3 separate regions of the Homo sapiens genome follow, and regions 1 and 2 are each linked to region 3. The links are contacts of gene promoters, found by promoter capture Hi-C in human tissues and cell types (Jung and others, 2019). All regions are on one chromosome and are shown on one strand. Each heading gives the region's core, a stretch centred on a gene start or on the middle of the fragment in contact. The rest is flanking DNA. Distances are from core to core; before and after follow the strand shown. Region 1 overlaps RAB6A (RAB6A, member RAS oncogene family). Region 2 overlaps MRPL48 (mitochondrial ribosomal protein L48). Region 3 holds the start of MRPL48 (mitochondrial ribosomal protein L48).

Region 1 (2,827 bases), core at 122-2,621, 53 kb before region 3:
GGCTGAGGCAGGCAGATCACCTGAAGTCAGGAGTTTGAGATCAGCCTGGCCAACATGGCAAAACCTCATTTCTACTAAAAATACAAGAATTAGCCGGGTGTGGTGATGCGCGCCTGTAATCCCAGCTACGCAGGAGACTGAGGCAGGAGAATCGTTTGAACCCAGGAGGTGGAGGTTACAGTGAGCCGAGATCATGCCACTGCACTCCAGCCTGGGCGACAGGGTGTGAGACACCATCTCAAAAAAAAAAAAATAAATAAATAAAAATAAATAAATAAATAAAGAGAATGGACAAATTGTGGCATAGTCATAAAATGAAATATTACAATGACAAAATATCCTAACATGTAAAATTGTATGAACAAATTTCAGACACTACATAGAGTGAAAGAGACCAGATACAAAAGAATATATACTCTGTAATTCTATTTATATGACGTTCAAAACTGGTAGAATTAATGCTGATAGAAGTCAAGAAAAGTTGTAAGGGGTTTCTAACTGAGAAAGGGAGCCAAGGAATCTTCTAAGTGCTGGTATTAATCATTACAAAGGTGAATAAAAAAGTAAAATTTCCAACAAGCCATATATTTAAGATTTGTCTACTTTGTGCCCTTTACTGGATGTTATACTTTAAAATAAAATCTTTTTCTCAAAGAGTAAAACACTTTACTATATATGTATCATTCCCAATAAAAAGTGTATATATGTATGTGGCTATCAAGAACCCCTGATATACTGTGACAAGAAGGGCACTTCACCTTGTGAAGTGAAAAAAACTCCAGTTTAATAACGGAGAAGAATTTACCCAGTTTATCAAGTTTTTGTTTGTTTTTGAGACGGGGTCTCACTCTGTCGCCCAGGCTGGAGTGCAGTGACACGATATCAGCTCACTGCAACCTTCACCTCCTGGGGTCAAGCGATTCTCCTGCCTCAGCCTCCTGGGTAGCTGAGATTACAGGCGCCCGCCACCACGCCCAGCTAGTTTTTGTATTTTTAGTAGAGACAGAGTTTCACCATGTTGGCCAGGCTGGTCTCAAACTCCTGACCTCAGGTGATATACCTGCCTCAGCCCCCCAAAGAGCTGGGATTACAGGCTTCAGCCACCGCACCTGGCCAGTTTATCCAGTTTAATAGTGAGAAAAAAAAATGGCAAACCCAAATTGGAGATAAATCTACAGTAGCAGTCACCAATCTTTTTGGCACCAGGGACCAGTTTCATGGAAGACAGTTTTTCTGTGGGAGTTGGGGAGGAGGAACGGTGGATGGTTTCAGGATGAAACTGTTCTACCTCAGATCATCAGGCATTAGATTCTCATAAGGAGCATGCAACCTAGATCCCTCACATGCACAGTTCACTATAGGGTTCTCGCTCCTATGAGAATCTAATGCCAGCACTGATCTGACAGGAGGTGGAGCTCAGGCCCACTGCTTACCTCCTGCCGTGAGGCCTGGTTCCTAACAGGAGTAATCTAAAATCTAGGAGAAAAAAAACTAAAGGAGAGTGTCTCTCAGTAAAAGTAGGTAGGAACAAGACAACTACAAGTTGAGTATCTCTTAACCAAAATGCTCAGAACCATAAATATTTCAGATTTTAGAAAATTTGCATTATACTTGAGCATCCTTAATCCAAAAGCCTGAAATGAGAAATGCTCCAATGAGCATTTCCTTTGAAAGTCATGTTTAAATATAAAATTTTGATGCATGTATTTGTAAATCATCTCTTAATAACTACATTTGCATTCACTATGCTGCCTCAATGCAATCTCCAGAAACAAAATAGAAATTCTAGCACAATTTCAACATTTATAATAACATTCCTAAAATCACACCATCTGCACCATGCTAATTACACACTCTTGCAATTCTGTGAAGGCCAGACACAACAATGATCTCAGTAGGATTCACATTCCATTTGACTGTATTAACAACCACTGGCAAACAACTTGGGTATAAATTCTAATTCAAATGATAGGGCTCAATCTTTGAAACTTTTGTAGCCCAGGGCAAATATAATAGAAAAATGATCCTACTCACTTATATTTCTTCCTTTTAATGAGAACATACTAAATGCCAGGGACTGAAAAATGCTGGGGATATAAAAACAATCAGAACATAGTACTTGCTAAGGTTAAGTCAGAGAGACAAAAAGTTACTGCAGAGTGATAAAAAGTACAAGAGCATGTTGTGAATGGGGGCAGTCTTCTATTATAAGGCTAGAAGGTAAAGAAAAACTTTCCAGAGAAAAATAACTTTAAACATGAGGTCTGAAGGAGACTTTAGCTAGAAGAAAAAGAAGGTATCTCAGGCCTTTAACAAGGACCATGAGTATTAGAGAGCTAACTTAGGAAGCTTTATTTATTTTTCCAATCTTATTTGGAAAGAAATAAATTTAAATACGTAACTCTACTTATATACGAGATTACCTAAATTCTTCAACAATAAATCAGACAAGTAAATCTGTAATAACCCATATGCAGGACATAATCTTGAAGTTACAGGCCCTCTTACAGGATTTTGCTGCTAATATCAAACCTATCCCAACCTCAAAAGTCTATTTGAGAGAATAAGCAGTATTTGAGGAGGCAGTTTCTGGAATCCCAACCTTGCCTTAAAAAAAAAAAAAAAAAAGAGAGAGAGAGACAGAGAGAGATAAATCACATACCATACAATTCACCTACTTTTTTTTTTTTGGAAACAGAGTGCAGTGGCATGATCGTGGCTCACCATGGCCTCAACCTCCTGGGTTGAAATAATCCTCTGACCTTAGCCTCCAGAGTAGCAGACGATACAGGTGGAAAGTGCTGGGATTACAGATATGAGAAATTCA
Region 2 (2,918 bases), core at 303-2,802, 50 kb after region 3:
CCTCACCCTTCTAAAGTGCCAGGATTACAGGCATGAGCCACCGTGCCCTTCCAAAAATGCCACTTATTATTATATACCAGGTGCTGTAAGTACTATGTGCCAGGCTTTAAAGACATTATTTCATTTTATAGCCTTATAAACATATATATTATTTAAGCCTTAGAGTATCATATGGTTATTCAAGACCCTGTTTGAGGAATCCAAGACTCAGAGAAAGATTAAATGATGTGCCCACGTGGCTAGAAGTTTTCAGAGCCGATATTTGGAATGAGGATGGCCAGAATTCATCTAACATCTCTAGTATTTCCATTTCATATAAATTCACTCTATTAAGCTTCACAATAACTTTAGCTGTTACAGATGAGGAAACTGAGGCCTAGAAAGGTCACACAGTGTCATGTAGTGACTAAGCAGATAGTTAGGATTTGAGGTCAGATTTTCTGTGGCTTCCATCTAAGTCTAGTGCACTTTATATAGCATCAGGCCATGCCTCCTTGCTACCCCAGTCAGAGCCAGGCCTTTTGTCCATATGTCTCTCAAGTGTATAACACCAGGTTATAAACATACTCAATCGCTGCATACCTCACAGCTCATTATGGACTGTTGATAGTACTTAACCCCAAATCATTCAAATCCTCGGGTGTAAATTTTGTTATTTTCATCACTAGAATTTCTGGAAGCTGAATATGCTGCAGGCATATCAGCCTTTTTGTTTGAGGATTCAGATAATGGATTAATTCTTATCCAACTTTCTCACCCTGGAGAATGTCACTTATAGCGATGGGTAGATACTATCACTTTAAAGGAGAGAGCCTGGGCTTGGGGCTGCAGACTCAGCTTCCAGTTCTGGATAGACATAAAGTTGTTACCTTTGCCCTTGTCTTGCTGTTAAACCTTACACAAGCCATTTTCCTTTTCTGGGTCTCAACTTCCCCCTTGTGTAGAATTAGGGGGAAGGAGAGATTAAATTATCTCTAAGATCCTTTCTGGCTGTAACAGGCTATGATTCTAATTTGATTCCTTTCTTTATCTGCTCTTTCCAGCAAAGTTTCTCAGTAACCTTGGGCAAATAACTTACCTTCAGAGGACCTCAGTTTTCTGTCTGTGAAATAGGGGTAATAATGTGAACATTTGTGTACAAAACTTGTTTCATAATTTACCCTATAGTCTATTTGGGGGACCAGAGTGCAGTCCTACAAGGACCTAAGAATGACAATCCTGGGCCATCCCTTAGTGAATCTAGGCCATAGGAGTGCCAACGTTTGATGATGGACAGTAGTCCATCCTCCCTACTACGTTTCTCCTAACTTCCTTTCCTTTCCTGCCTGGCTGGCCTTCATGTGCAGTCAGGTTGGGCTTCCCAAAACACAGCTTTATTCATGTATATCCTTTGCACAGATTTATTTATTTATTTATTTAGAGACAGAGTCTCGCACTGTTGCCCGGGCTGGAGTGCAGTCAGTGGCATGATCTTGGCTCACTGCAACCTCTGCTTCACGGGTTCAAGCGATTCTCCTGCCTCAGCCTCCTGAGTATCTGGGACTACAGGCACCCGCCACCACGCCTGGCTAATTTTTTTGTATTTTTGGTAGAGATGGGGTTTCACCATGTTGGTCAGGCTGGTCTTGAACTCCTGACCTCATGGTCCGCCTGCCTCGGCCTCCCAAAGTGCTGGGATTACAGGCATGAGCCTCCACTCCTGGCCCACAGATATATCTTTAATAGTTCCTCATGGCATTCATGAAGTCCTGAACTCAATCAGTAGGCATTGAGAGAATGGGATGGATGTGAGAAAAATTGTGTAGATAAAATGACAGAAACTGGCATCTGGTATTATATGCAGTTAAGCTCTTGCTGGCTATGCTGTGCCCTGGCTCAGAACTGAAATATGTATTGTAATATCACAGTGGGATCTTGATAATGTGAATTGGTTCAGGTAGATCTAGGCCAACATGGGAAAGCAAATGAGATGCCAAGATGGACACTGGGATCAGCTTTCTTTTCTTTGTTCCCCTAAAGCAATACCTTTGGAGAGTCCTGGCATTTTCTGTGGTTAAGAAAAGCCTCCTACAGGCTTCAGAGAAGCTCCTCCCCTCTCTGCTGGAAAATTTCAGCCACTCTCCATTGCATTCTGACTTCAGCATTCTAGACAGCTCTTACTGCAGTGCTGCCTGTCACGATGAGAAGTCCTGATTGCTGCATTTGGCCATGAATGTGTTGGGCTCTGAAGAGGAGAGAGCCAAATGCCTGCATGTTGGTGGTTGGTTTCTAGAGGTTGGCTTCCCACTCACCGCAAGGTCTAGCACCCTGGGGTGGCCACCACTGTTAAGAACTTTAGTAATGCAGAGGAAAAATTCCTGCACTAGGATCAGGAGGTCTGGATTTTAGTTCCTGGGGTCTGTCTTGTCTGGCTTCGTGATTCTGGGGAACACATTTATCTGTTTGGGCTTCATATTCTTCCCTTGCAAAGATGAAGAACCAGGACAAAAGCATCTCTAAATTCCTTCCTATTCTAAAATTTTAAAATAATGACTCATTGTATGTTTTCTCTTTGCTGGGCCCTGTGCTAGATAGGAGGAATATAAAGTGAAAATAATAATAAAAGTTAATGTTTAGTGTTTATGTGCCACAGATTGTATTAACCATTTTACATATAGTATTTTGTTCAGTTCTCAAAACATTCCTGTGAGATCAGGTCTATCATCAGTATTACTGGCCTTGTAAAAGGACCATTTCTTTGTCTTCTCTGTGCTTCCTCAAATTGGCTTCCTGCTCTTGACAGGTTGACCTTCAGAGCAGCAGTGTAAGGGAACCATTCCAGGTGCTCTGTTAGGAACAATGCTGCTGTGGAAGCCCCTAGACTGTTGGCTATTAGATGGGGTGACTTAAGACATATCAGTAGGGATAGTTTTTTTTTC
Region 3 (2,951 bases), core at 96-2,595:
TAGTAGAGACGGAGTTTCACAGTTTTGGTCAGGCTGGTCTCAAACTCCCGACCTTGTGATCCGCCTGCCTTGGCCTCCCAAAGTGCTGGGATTACAGGCATGAGCCACCGCACCCGGCCATGTATCTTATTAGATTGTATTTACCTGGACTAGACAAGGAAAGAAACTCTCTGGCTGCCAACCTGCCCTTTTGCAAACCTATAGTCACAGTCCCATAAAATAGATGAAGCACAGGCACGGAAATGAAACAGCTCACCACTTATATAACATTATGTTAACTAGGTACCTTCTTCCTGTCTCTGTTCCTCATCTGTGAAATGGGTATAATGATCCTCAGCCTCATAGGGTTATTGGAAAGACTAAATGAACCCATACACCCATAAAGAACCGACCTGGCACATACTAGCATTTGATTGATTTTTTTTTTCTTATTTAAAATTTCACTTCTAAAACCCCAATAGCATTTATTAGGCAATAATCAATCACTGTACTGGAGGAGGTATGCCTGGTCCATTATATTTCCAAGCATAATTAATTGTCGTATCTGTGTTACCTCAGTACTTTGCACACAATTCTGGTATTTCACTTACCATACTAGATACTAATTATTTGTTACTAGATACTAATTATTTTTTGCTATTATTTTGATTGAGTTCCTCAAGGACTGAGATCCTGACTAATTTATTCCAGCATCTAGCACAGGACGTGGAAATCTGACTTCTAAACTCAATTTAAGAGATGATTGGCTGGGCCTGGTGGCTCACGCTTGTAATCCCAGCACTTTAGGAGGCCGAGGCGGGCGGATCACCTGAGGTCGGGAGTTCAAGACCAGCCTGACAAACATGGAGAAACCTCATCTCTAGTAAAAATATAAAAATTAGGCGGGCGTGGTGGCGGGCACCTGTAATCCCAGCTACTTGGAGACAGAATTGCTTGAACCCGAGAGGCGGAGGTGGCAGTGAGCTGAGATCGTGCCACTACACTCCAGCCTGCGCAACAGAGCGAGACTCCGTCTCAAACAAACAAAAAAGTCAGATCTGTGCTAGACGCTGAAAGGAATTAATCAGACAGGATCTCAGTCTTTTAAGAACTTTCAAATACAGAGAAGAGGTGGTAACAAATCATTAGTGTATAATATTGTAAGCGAAAAATTAGAATTGTGTGCTAAGTACTGGGGTAACACAGAGATGGTAATTAATTCTTTCTGGAGAAACAGCAGTGAATGTGACAACCTGAGTGAGGGTGGAAAGCAGGAGAATTTCTAGACTCTGAATTTCAGAAGCTTCCGGAACTAAAATGATGTGGAAGTTGAGTGAGTCTCGGTGGGATATTGCTGCTGCACCTGGTCAAGGCCGTTCCTTCAGTGTTTTCAGACGCCCTGGGAACGCGGCTGCAGGGTCCGGTCTTCGGTTTGCACAGCTAGAGGCCGCGCAGCAGCAAAGGATGAGCGGAACCTTGGAAAAGGTAACGTAGATTCCACGCACGCGGGGCGCGGGGAGATGGCGGACGGTGCAGAGAGGGGAGATGGCGGAGGGTGCAGAGCGGGGAGGTGGCGGCGCGCGGACATCCGGGGATGAGACACTGGGGCGCCCAAGGTCCTTCCCAGCAGCACATGCGGCTGCCTGGCGTTGAAGGGGCTGAGCAGATTCCTTTCCACCCGGGGCGAACTCTGCCGAGCCGACCCGTGCCACGCCCACACCACATGCCACTCTCTCCACCCAGTTTCTGGAAAAGGGAGAGCTCTGCGATGGGAATCACGACACCAGGATACGGTCCCGATTAACTGTGTGACCTTGGGCAGGTCATTTTATATTTGCATTCAGTTATCAACTTCCAGAATTTTTTCTAAGAATGCAGTTTTGACTTGCTGAACTGATGAGGATGTGAAGCTACCTGGTAATAAGGAAACAGCAGTAATAAACTAGGTTTTTGTTCTTTTCTTTCTTTTTTTTTTTTTTTTTTTTTTGACGGATTTCGCTCTGTTGCCCAGGCTGGAGTGCAGTGGTGCGATCCCGGCTCACCACAACCTTCGCCTTCCGGGTTCAAGCGATTCTCCTGCCTCAGCCTCCTCAGTAGCTGGGACTACAGGCGCGGGACACCATGCCGGGCTAATTTTTGTATTTTTAGTAGAGACGGGGTTTCACTGTGTTGGCCAGGCTGGTCTCGAATTCCTGACCACGTGATCTGCCCGCCTCGGCCTCCCAAAGTGCCGGGATTACAGGCATGAGCCACCGCGCCCTGCAATAATTAACAACATTTTCGTTTCCAAAACCTTATTTAAGTGACTGTCATAAAACCGTATGAACCACTATAAATGTGTTCCTGGGCTTTCTCCCGTTCCCTTAACAGATTTAACAGATTTCATTTGTGCTCTTTCAATTGTATCATGCTGCTTAGATTAATGACTCATTTTAGCAATTTATATTAAAATTTTGTTTTAGGCATTAATTGTGGCAACTATATTTCCATGATTCATAGGTCAGCATGGTCGTTGCAGCTCATGGGTCTACCTGTGGTTACCTTGGGGCTGCCCTTGAATGTGTGAGGGCCCACGCCTCACTTCATCCTTTATGAAACAATTCACTTGTTCACCTTAGCCAGTTTGTAAGAATTTGGCCAAATATGGTGCCAAGATAATAGAAAAAAAAATCAGAAAGTTTCAAAATTCCATTGTTAAAGATGGTCACACTGGTGACTACACTCCTTGATTTGCCTTGGTTCCAAGAAGGGCTAAAAGGGAGGGATTATTTTTCAAGGAATACTATTTCCAACCATTCGGTTCTCCATGTTTCACCATATTGCTCAGGCTGGTCTGGAACTCCTGGAAAAGAGCCCATGGAAATCTGTCATTAAGGCCAGCATCTGACATGGGTATATAAGGCCTCTCGACGTCTGATGCCACTGTTCTCTTCCCGACTCCTTAGTTGCTTTAGTCAGCTAACCTCGTCATT

What was found. The method cuts DNA at HindIII sites, captures the fragments that hold promoters and counts their contacts. A contact is called where the count stands out against the background at its distance.
Region 1: a contact is called between a fragment that was not itself captured here and the fragment with the promoter of MRPL48 in region 3, in 4 of the 25 tissues and cell types used here (H1 embryonic stem cells, IMR-90 fibroblasts, mesendoderm cells and 1 more).
Region 2: a contact is called between a fragment that was not itself captured here and the fragment with the promoter of MRPL48 in region 3, in 6 of the 25 tissues and cell types used here (aorta, heart left ventricle, liver and 3 more).

Annotation. Positions count from the first base shown.
Region 1 is chr11:73,733,311-73,736,137 of GRCh38, forward strand. The region is part of intron 1 of RAB6A (RAB6A, member RAS oncogene family); the gene reads right to left. Among named protein-coding and RNA genes, the nearest start is that of RAB6A, 26 kb to the right of the region's middle. The HindIII fragment of the contact is 8,687 bases long and covers 1-2,827 here.
Region 2 is chr11:73,836,447-73,839,364 of GRCh38, forward strand. The region is part of intron 4 of MRPL48 (mitochondrial ribosomal protein L48); the gene reads left to right. Among named protein-coding and RNA genes, the nearest start is that of COA4, 39 kb to the right of the region's middle. The HindIII fragment of the contact is 8,765 bases long and covers 1-2,918 here.
Region 3 is chr11:73,786,529-73,789,479 of GRCh38, forward strand. It overlaps MRPL48 (mitochondrial ribosomal protein L48), which reads left to right and starts at 1,346. Exons shown (of 8, transcript NM_016055.6): 1 at 1,346-1,464. The coding sequence starts at 1,444. RefSeq lists enhancers at 1,280-1,339, 1,480-1,559. The HindIII fragment of the contact is 15,089 bases long and covers 1-2,951 here.